Linked DNA regions of Homo sapiens: regions 1 and 2 are each linked to region 3. The links are contacts of gene promoters, found by promoter capture Hi-C in human tissues and cell types (Jung and others, 2019). All regions are on one chromosome and are shown on one strand. Each heading gives the region's core, a stretch centred on a gene start or on the middle of the fragment in contact. The rest is flanking DNA. Distances are from core to core; before and after follow the strand shown. Region 1 overlaps UGT1A8 (UDP glucuronosyltransferase family 1 member A8). Region 2 overlaps HJURP (Holliday junction recognition protein). Region 3 holds the start of MROH2A (maestro heat like repeat family member 2A).

Region 1 (2,700 bases), core at 105-2,604, 39 kb after region 3:
CTCTCCTTTAAACCCTTTCAGTATAACTTCAATCACCACCAATCTTGTATTAGTCTATTCTCAGCCTGCTATAAAGACGCAGCTGAGACTGGGTAATTTATAAAAGAAAGAGGTTTAATTGACTCACAGTTCCACATGACTGGGGAGGCCTCAGGAAACTTACAATCATGACAGAAGGTGAGAGATAAGCAAAGGCATGTCTCACATGGCAGCAGGCGAGAGACAGAGAGGAAAAGCTTGTGAGTAAAGGAGAAAGAGTCCCTTATAAAACCATCAGCTCTCATGAGAACTCACTTAGTATGACAAGAACAGCATGGGGAAAACTGCCGATATGATTCAATCAGCTCCCACCAGGTACCAACCTTAACACATGGGGATTATGGAAATTACAATATGAGATGAGATTTGGGTGGAAACACACAGTCAAATCATATCATTCTGCCCTCTGGCCCATCCCAAATCTCATGTCTTTTCACATTTAAAAACCAATCATGCCTTCCCAACTGTCCTCCAAAGTCTTAACTCATTTCAGCACTAGCTCAAAAGTCCATAGTCCAAGGTCTCATCTGAGACAAGTCAAGTCCCTTCCCCCATGAGCCTGTAAAATCAAAAACAAGTTAGTAACTTCCAAGACACAATGGGGGTACAGAAATTGGGTAAATGTTCCCATTTCAAATGGGAGAAACTGGCCAAAACAAAGGGGCTATAGGCCCCATGCAAGTCCAAAACCAGGCAGGGCAGTCATTAAATCTTAAAGCTCCAAAATAATCTCCCTTGACTTCATGTCTCACATCTAGATCAAGGTGATGCCAGAAATGGGCTCCCACGGTCTCAGGCAGCTCCAACCCTGTGGCTTTGCAGGGTAAAGCCCTCGTCCTGGCTGCTTTCAGAGGGTGGCATTGATGTCTGTGGCTCTTCCAGGCACACAGTGCAAGCTATTGGATCTGCCCTTCTGGGTTCTGAAGGACTGTGGCCTTCTTCTCACAACTCCACTAGGCAGTGCCCCAGTGGAGACTCTGTGTGGGGGCTCCAACCTCACATTTCTTTACCACCCTTCTCTAGCAGAGGTTCTCTATAAGGACTCTATCCATGCAGCAAACGTCTGCCTGGACATCCAAGCATTTCCTTACATCCTCTAAAATTTATGTGGAGGTTCCCAAACCTAAATTCTTATCTTCTGTGTACCCGCAGGCCCAACACCACATCGATGCTGCCAAGGCTTGAGGTTTGCACCCTCTGAAGCAATGGCCTGAGCTCTACCTTGGCCCCTTTTAGCCATGGCTGGAGCCACTGGGACACAGGGCACCAAGTCCTGAGGCTGCACACAGCAGTGGGGGCCTGGACCCAGCCTAAAACACCATTTTTCCTTCCTAGGCCTCCAGGCCTGTGATGGGAGGGTCTGCTGCAAAGGTCTCTGACATGCCCTGGAGCCATTTTCCCCATTGTCTTGGTGATTAACATTTGGTTCCTCCTTATTTATTCAAATTTCTTTAGCTAGTATTTCTGCATCTGGCTTGAATTTCTCCCCATAAAATGGGTTTTTCTTTTCTACCACATGGTCAGGCTGCAAATTTTCCAAACTTTTATGCTCTGCTTCCCTTTTAAACATAAGTTCCAATTTCAGATCATCTCTCTCAAGTTCGTAGTTCCAAAGAGCTCTAGGGCAGGGGCAAAAATGCCACGAGTTTCTTTGCTAAAGCTTAGCAAGAGTGACCTTTGCTCCAGTTCTCAACAGATTCCTCATCTCTATCTGAGACTCAGCCTGGACTTCATTGTCCACAACATTATCAGCATTTTGGTCAAAACCGTTCAACAAGTCTCCAGGAAGTTCCAAACTTTCCCACATCTTCCTGTCTTCTGAGCTCTCCAAACTGTTCCAGCCTCTGCCTGTTACCCAGTTCCAAGTCACTTCCACATTTTCAAGTAGTTTTATAGCAGTACCCCACTCTCCATGACACCAATTTACTGTATTAGTCCATTCACACACTGCTATAAAGACATACCCAAGACTGGGTAATTTATAAAGGAAAGAGCTTTAATTGACTCCAGTTCCATGTGGCTGGAGGGGCCTCAGGAAACTTATAATCCTGGCAGAAAGTGAGAGAGAGGCAAAGACACGTCTTACATGAAAGAGAGAAAGAGGAATAGCTTGCAAGTGAAGGGATAAGGGCCCCTTATAAAACCATCAGATCTCATAAGAACTCACTCACTATGATGAGATTAGGAGGTGGGGACCTCCCACCATGTCCTGTCCTCAACACGTGGGGATTATGGGGATTACAATTCAAGATGAGATTTGGTGGGGGACACAGAGCCAAACCATATTAAATCTAGTGTGACCTCATGTTGGGAAACAGTCAATGGACTCACTACTAAATACACTAGCCTGTTCTTTACCACACTCGAAAATTAGCTTTGTTAATGTGGAATTCTTAAGGGGCATAGCAAGAGTGACCTGTGCCACAGTTCCCAATTTGTTCTGCTCCACTGAGATGATAGTGAAGATTTGAGCCAATGTAGTTAACTCTAGAGAATATGTTCACATTGAAAAACTGGAAGAGAAAAGGAAAAAAAAAGGAGGTGTTGGAGAGGAGAACGGAAGCTTCAGCACCAATGGCCAAATAGGAACAGCTCCGATCTGCAGCTCCCAGCATGATCGACGCAGAAGATGGATGATTTCTGCATTTCCAACTGAGGTAC
Region 2 (2,700 bases), core at 43-2,542, 62 kb before region 3:
ACAGACCCCAAATCCATAAGTTAGATCCAAGTTGGAAGGAGCGCAAAGTGACACCCTCGAAGTATTCTTCCTTGATTTACTTCGACTCCAGTGCAACATATAATCTTGATGAGGAAAATAGATTTAGGACATTAAAATGGTTAATTTCTCCTGTAAAAATAGTTTCCAGACCAACAATACGACAGGGCCATGGAGAGAACCGTCAGAGGGAGATTGAAATCCGATTTGATCAGCTTCATCGGGAATATTGCCTGAGTCCCAGGAACCAGCCTCGCCGGATGTGCCTCCCGGACTCCTGGGCCATGAACATGTACAGAGGGGGTCCTGCGAGTCCTGGTGGCCTTCAGGGCTTAGAAACCCGCAGGCTGAGTTTACCTTCCAGCAAAGCAAAAGCAAAAAGTTTAAGTGAGGCTTTTGAAAACCTAGGCAAAAGATCTCTGGAAGCAGGTAGGTGCCTGCCCAAGAGCGATTCATCTTCATCACTTCCAAAGACCAACCCCACACACAGCGCAACTCGCCCGCAGCAGACATCTGACCTTCACGTTCAGGGAAATAGTTCTGGAATATTTAGAAAGTCAGTGTCACCCAGCAAAACTCTTTCAGTCCCAGATAAAGAAGTGCCAGGCCACGGAAGGAATCGTTACGATGAAATTAAAGAAGAATTTGACAAGCTTCATCAAAAGTATTGCCTCAAATCTCCTGGGCAGATGACAGTGCCTTTATGTATTGGAGTGTCTACAGATAAAGCAAGTATGGAAGTTCGATATCAAACAGAAGGCTTCTTAGGAAAATTAAATCCAGACCCTCACTTCCAGGGTTTCCAGAAGTTGCCATCATCACCCCTGGGGTGCAGAAAAAGTCTACTGGGCTCAACTGCAATTGAGGCTCCTTCATCTACATGTGTTGCTCGTGCCATCACGAGGGATGGCACGAGGGACCATCAGTTCCCTGCAAAAAGACCCAGGCTATCAGAACCCCAGGGCTCCGGACGCCAGGGCAATTCCCTGGGTGCCTCAGATGGGGTGGACAACACCGTCAGACCGGGAGACCAGGGCAGCTCTTCACAGCCCAACTCAGAAGAGAGGTAGGTGTGTTTCTGTTGGTTGAATGTGGTTTATGTGAGTGACTGCTCTTTGGACAGAGGCTTTTTATGGTAGGAATCTTTGCGCCACGTTTAGTGAATCTCAGCCGAATTCTTACATACGTGATCATTTTCTGAGCTTTCTCCCAAATGCTTTTCCTTCCTGTAAAGTCAGCGTCTCTATCAAGAATGTGTCCCTGTGTAAGATGCATCGAGGTAAAGCAGAAAGTGCTCTTGCAGAAGTTTCACACTTTCCATTAGAATGCATTCAGAGGCTTTTTTCCTGCAAATCCTCACTTACTACGCTTTATTCGTCTTTGTCAAACCTTCATTTCTAACCTCTTCATCTGACACTCAGAAAATAGCTGTTGTAAGGCGAAAGTGATCTAAAGCGAATGACTTCCTATTTCTGGATTCCTGGTAGGGAAAGAGCAAGAGTGGCCTGGGAGAGCCACGAGCACAGTATTCTCACAGGTGCGAGGGGTGCCCTGCAGATATCTCAGTGCTCAGTGTTAAAACTTCTGCACCTTGTTCTGCAGCTTAATTTGTGCGAATCATGTCAGCTAGAGTTTTAGTCTGCGTGTGCCCTTTTCTCTAGAGACAGTGGGGTGGGGTGGGTCAGTGGGAGTGAGTACCTTTGTTGGCATTAAAGGTTGGATTCCCCAGCACAGCTTCTCTGTGTGTCCACAGTCAGGATCTGGAGGATGCGACTTTCTTAACCCACAGGTGGACGGGACTTGACTGTGGGTTTGATTTGGCCGGTTCCTTTGGGTTTTGTGTGTTTGTGGTTCCAGCAGGTGAGGCCGTGTCTCCAGTATCCTCTTCCCTTGTGCCCTAGCCTGGCGATGTGCCTCTTCTCTGAGGTCATTTGGGTGGACCCTGCCTGCCATAAGTGTCCCATTTTCTGTTTCTCCCACCTGGACCCGCCTGGCCTGCGAGCCCTTCTCAGCCACTGGCTCCTGCCGTGCGTCCAGCTCAGAACCAAGGTCTGGTATGCCTTGTTCCTTCTGTGGTGCCTGCCTTCGAAGCCTGCAGTCCCGCCTGTGCATGGCAGAGACCACACTCTCAGACCGCCAGCGGCCTCCTGTGGCTTGAGCCCCCTGGGGCCTTTCTCACTGTCACTCTGTCTTCCCAATGCCCTTGGACTGCTCAGGGCCACCTGCTCCAGGGTCTGCCGTAGGACAGCCCTTCCCTTCCAGGGAACTTTCACTGGCATTCTCCCCCTACTCCCCAGTTCTTTGCTATTGCATCCTCGGACATCCTCCCTAGACTCCACCCACCGCTCAGCTGCCTGCTCCGTGCAGGTAACCCCCACCCTCCCAGGGGCTGCACATGGTGGGTGCTGCAGTGGGGAGCTGTCTGGACACAGACCAGTCTCATGGGTTAGCGGCTCAGGCTCCTTGGCTCAGTTCTAGAAGCTCCCAGGTTTTGTTGGATGTTTTGGTTTTCAAAGTTATTTTCGTGTATAAAGTCATACTGTGTGAGCTAACCAGAAGCAGATGAAACAAGCCTTGGTTGTCATCTGTCTTCCCAGTTGAGGATGGACATACGTAAGTGTTCAGGTGATGGGAAAGGTTTTTCTCTGCAGGGCCCCAGCTAGGGTCAGGGGCACTGTGTGG
Region 3 (2,700 bases), core at 126-2,625:
ATGTCCAGAAGGTTCACGACTTGTTGAAAGGTACCTATGAAAACAAACGCCACCCAGGTGCAGTGTGGAAATGACCATGACAGGAGGTGCCCTTGTGTCCCTGGCCTTGCCTCCACCTGCGCAGCTCCAGCTTCATGTGTGGTATGATGTCCACTGTGCAGATGGAGAAAGGGAGACCTAGGCTGGGGCTGCAGTCAAAGAGTTAGTGTCTGAGATGGGGCAGGAAAGCAGAAATGTGGATGACATTCTTACCACTGTCATGTAATTCAAGAGGCCCCAGGTCGTCTCTTTCCTCTGACACCTCCTCACTTGAGGCTACTGCTGCTTCTGTAATGGCTTCAGTCATCTCTTCCTCAAGCTCTTTTGAGATCAACAGAATTTGTAAAATACGGGGTGTGACACACACCTTAAGATGACCCCAACGACCCACACCCTTCCATAAAGCCATCCCCTTGAGGGTGTGTGGGTGGAACCTGTGACTTCCTTCTAATCAACAGAATATGGCAAAGGTGATGGGTGACCCTCTCTCGAGTGGATTACATCATATGGCAAAGATGGTGGGATGTCATTCCCATGATCACACTATGCCACATGAGATTCCCTCTTATCAGATTGAACAGAAACATTCTACTGGCCTTGAAAAGTAAACAGCCATGATGCAAACTGCCTGTGGTGAGGGCCACGTAGCAAGGAACTGAGGGCCTCAGTCCTACAACCATAAGAAACTGAATTCTCCAATAAGCACATGAGCTTGGAAGAGGAAGCTGAACTCCAGAAAGGACTGCAGTCTCTGAGACCCTAAACAAAGGACCAAGGAAAGCCATGCCTAGACTCCTGGCCAGTGGAACCGTGAGATAATCAATGGATGTTCTTTTAAGCCACTGAGTTTATGATAATTTGTTACACAGCAATAGATAATATCCTTAGTTTAATAGAGCCCTCTCGCCCTCTCTTCTACACACTGATAATTAATGGCTAATGAGAAATTCATATCAGTATCTCTCATAACTCCTTTAAGGGGTTCTCTCAACATCCACAGCTTCTTAAAAATTGAGAAACACCAACATAGATGTCGAGATGGTGGAAGAAAGGCTCTCAGATCCTTTCTCCTCCTGTCCCAAGTTCCTTGATCCTCAAAGATCCATCCCATGGCCCTTTACTATCCCATACTCTCTTTTCCTTTAAAGGATTTTAAAGAGCTACTCTGGGACCTAAATACTGACCTTTCCTTAGGGTCTTCTTCTGGATTAAACAGATATTAACCACAAGAAAAAGCTCTGCTCTTGGCCCAATACACATCAATGGAAATGCAAATGGAAGAATTGGTTATCAAAGTGAGACAGCTGGGCTCTTCAGTCATATTTCTTATAGGAATGGGTCTCCTGGAAGGGTGGGAGGGTTTCACTAGAACTATCACCGTTAGATCCCAGACCCTCGGAACTTTGAGATCCAACTGCCTCCCTGAGTCTCTATCAACCCAGGTCTTTGAAGAGTGCACAGGGCTCTGGGGTGAAAACTCCACATCATGTTGTCATTCAACATTTCTGTTATTCACATGTGTGTGCTGAAGTACAGGGGCCTGTTTGGGAAAGGGAGATGGTAGAAGTGGGGATGGCTTACAACCAAGTCCCAGGGGAACACAGTCATGTGAGCCCTGGGTGGGGAGGTGTGGTCAGGACAGTTGGAGAGGAGAGGAGGGGCAGACTGAGAGGCCCTGGGGAGAGCACTCCTCCTTCCCGGGGACTGGATGACTTGCAGGATAAGAAATTGGATTTCCACTAGCACAATACTTACAAGATAAAGAACATCAAAGACAGGTAGGAGAGGAGGCACCCTGATTTCCTAAACCAAAAGTGGAGCCCAAAGGATTTCCCTGTCATTTATAGCTAGGAGAGATGATCCAGATCATAGGTACAACAATGAAATATTGGCCTTTGGGAAATCTTTCTATGCACTGCAAGACAACAGGAACAAAACTCAGAGACATCTAGGGCCAAGGTTGCTTAAGTGGAATTTCCACTCCAAGTTTGCCCATCCAGCCAAATGGGAGTTCCTCAGCCTGTGCTTGGACACCTCCAATACGAGGGAGCTCATTACTCTCAGGACCAGCCTCTTTCTACTTCATGGAATTCAGATGGTTAGAAAATGAGCTTTCTTATCATGCCCAACATTTCTTCCTCATAAAATTCCTGCGTTATTCCTTGTTCTGCACTTGGAGATACATTGATCAACATGAAATAGACACAAGCAGCTATCCCATGCCCCTTCTTTCACAGGACTGCCCCTCTGCACTACCTCCTCCCACTCCCCACTGAGCCTTCTTTTCCGTTTGAAAGATCACTGAGGTGATGTGGTTGCCAAGTCCATTCCACAGGCCCAGACTGCACGCCTACTGTGTGCAGCTAAGCATGGCTTTCCATGCTGCAGTGGATATAGGGTAGGTGGAACACATCTCTGTCCTCTGAAGGTCTTCAGACTCAACACATGAAAAGTGATACATTTAGAGCCAGAAGTGAATGTGTCAGCAATTGCTGTGTAACAAACCACCTCAAAACTTAATGACTGAAAACAACCGATTATTATAGTTCACAAGTGTATGAGTCACCTGCGTGGGTCTGTGGATCTGTGCTCTGTCCAGCCAAGCACAACTAGAGTCTCACCCATGTATCTCAGACAGCTAGAGGGCTGGCCATTGGCTCG

The links. The method cuts DNA at HindIII sites, captures the fragments that hold promoters and counts their contacts. A contact is called where the count stands out against the background at its distance.
Region 1: a contact is called between a fragment that was not itself captured here and the fragment with the promoter of MROH2A in region 3, in 2 of the 25 tissues and cell types used here (mesendoderm cells and thymus).
Region 2: a fragment that was not itself captured here is called in contact with the fragment with the promoter of MROH2A in region 3 in 1 of the 25 tissues and cell types used here (pancreas).

Annotation. Positions count from the first base shown.
Region 1 is chr2:233,737,598-233,740,297 of GRCh38, reverse strand. The region is part of intron 1 of UGT1A8 (UDP glucuronosyltransferase family 1 member A8); the gene reads right to left. All of the region lies in intron 1 of UGT1A10 (UDP glucuronosyltransferase family 1 member A10), which reads right to left. The region is part of intron 1 of UGT1A9 (UDP glucuronosyltransferase family 1 member A9); the gene reads right to left. All of the region lies in intron 1 of UGT1A7 (UDP glucuronosyltransferase family 1 member A7), which reads right to left. It also overlaps UGT1A6, UGT1A5, UGT1A4, UGT1A3 and UGT1A. Among named protein-coding and RNA genes, the nearest start is that of UGT1A3, 9.9 kb to the right of the region's middle. The HindIII fragment of the contact is 3,282 bases long and covers 1-2,700 here.
Region 2 is chr2:233,838,993-233,841,692 of GRCh38, reverse strand. It overlaps HJURP (Holliday junction recognition protein), which reads left to right. Exons shown (of 9, transcript NM_018410.5): 8 at 1-1,084. Among named protein-coding and RNA genes, the nearest start is that of HJURP, 14 kb to the left of the region's middle. The HindIII fragment of the contact is 5,245 bases long and covers 1-2,700 here.
Region 3 is chr2:233,777,005-233,779,704 of GRCh38, reverse strand. It overlaps MROH2A (maestro heat like repeat family member 2A), which reads right to left and starts at 1,375. Exons shown (of 42, transcript NM_001394639.1): 1 at 1,224-1,375; 2 at 253-360; 3 at 1-34. The coding sequence starts at 346. The HindIII fragment of the contact is 23,317 bases long and covers 1-2,700 here.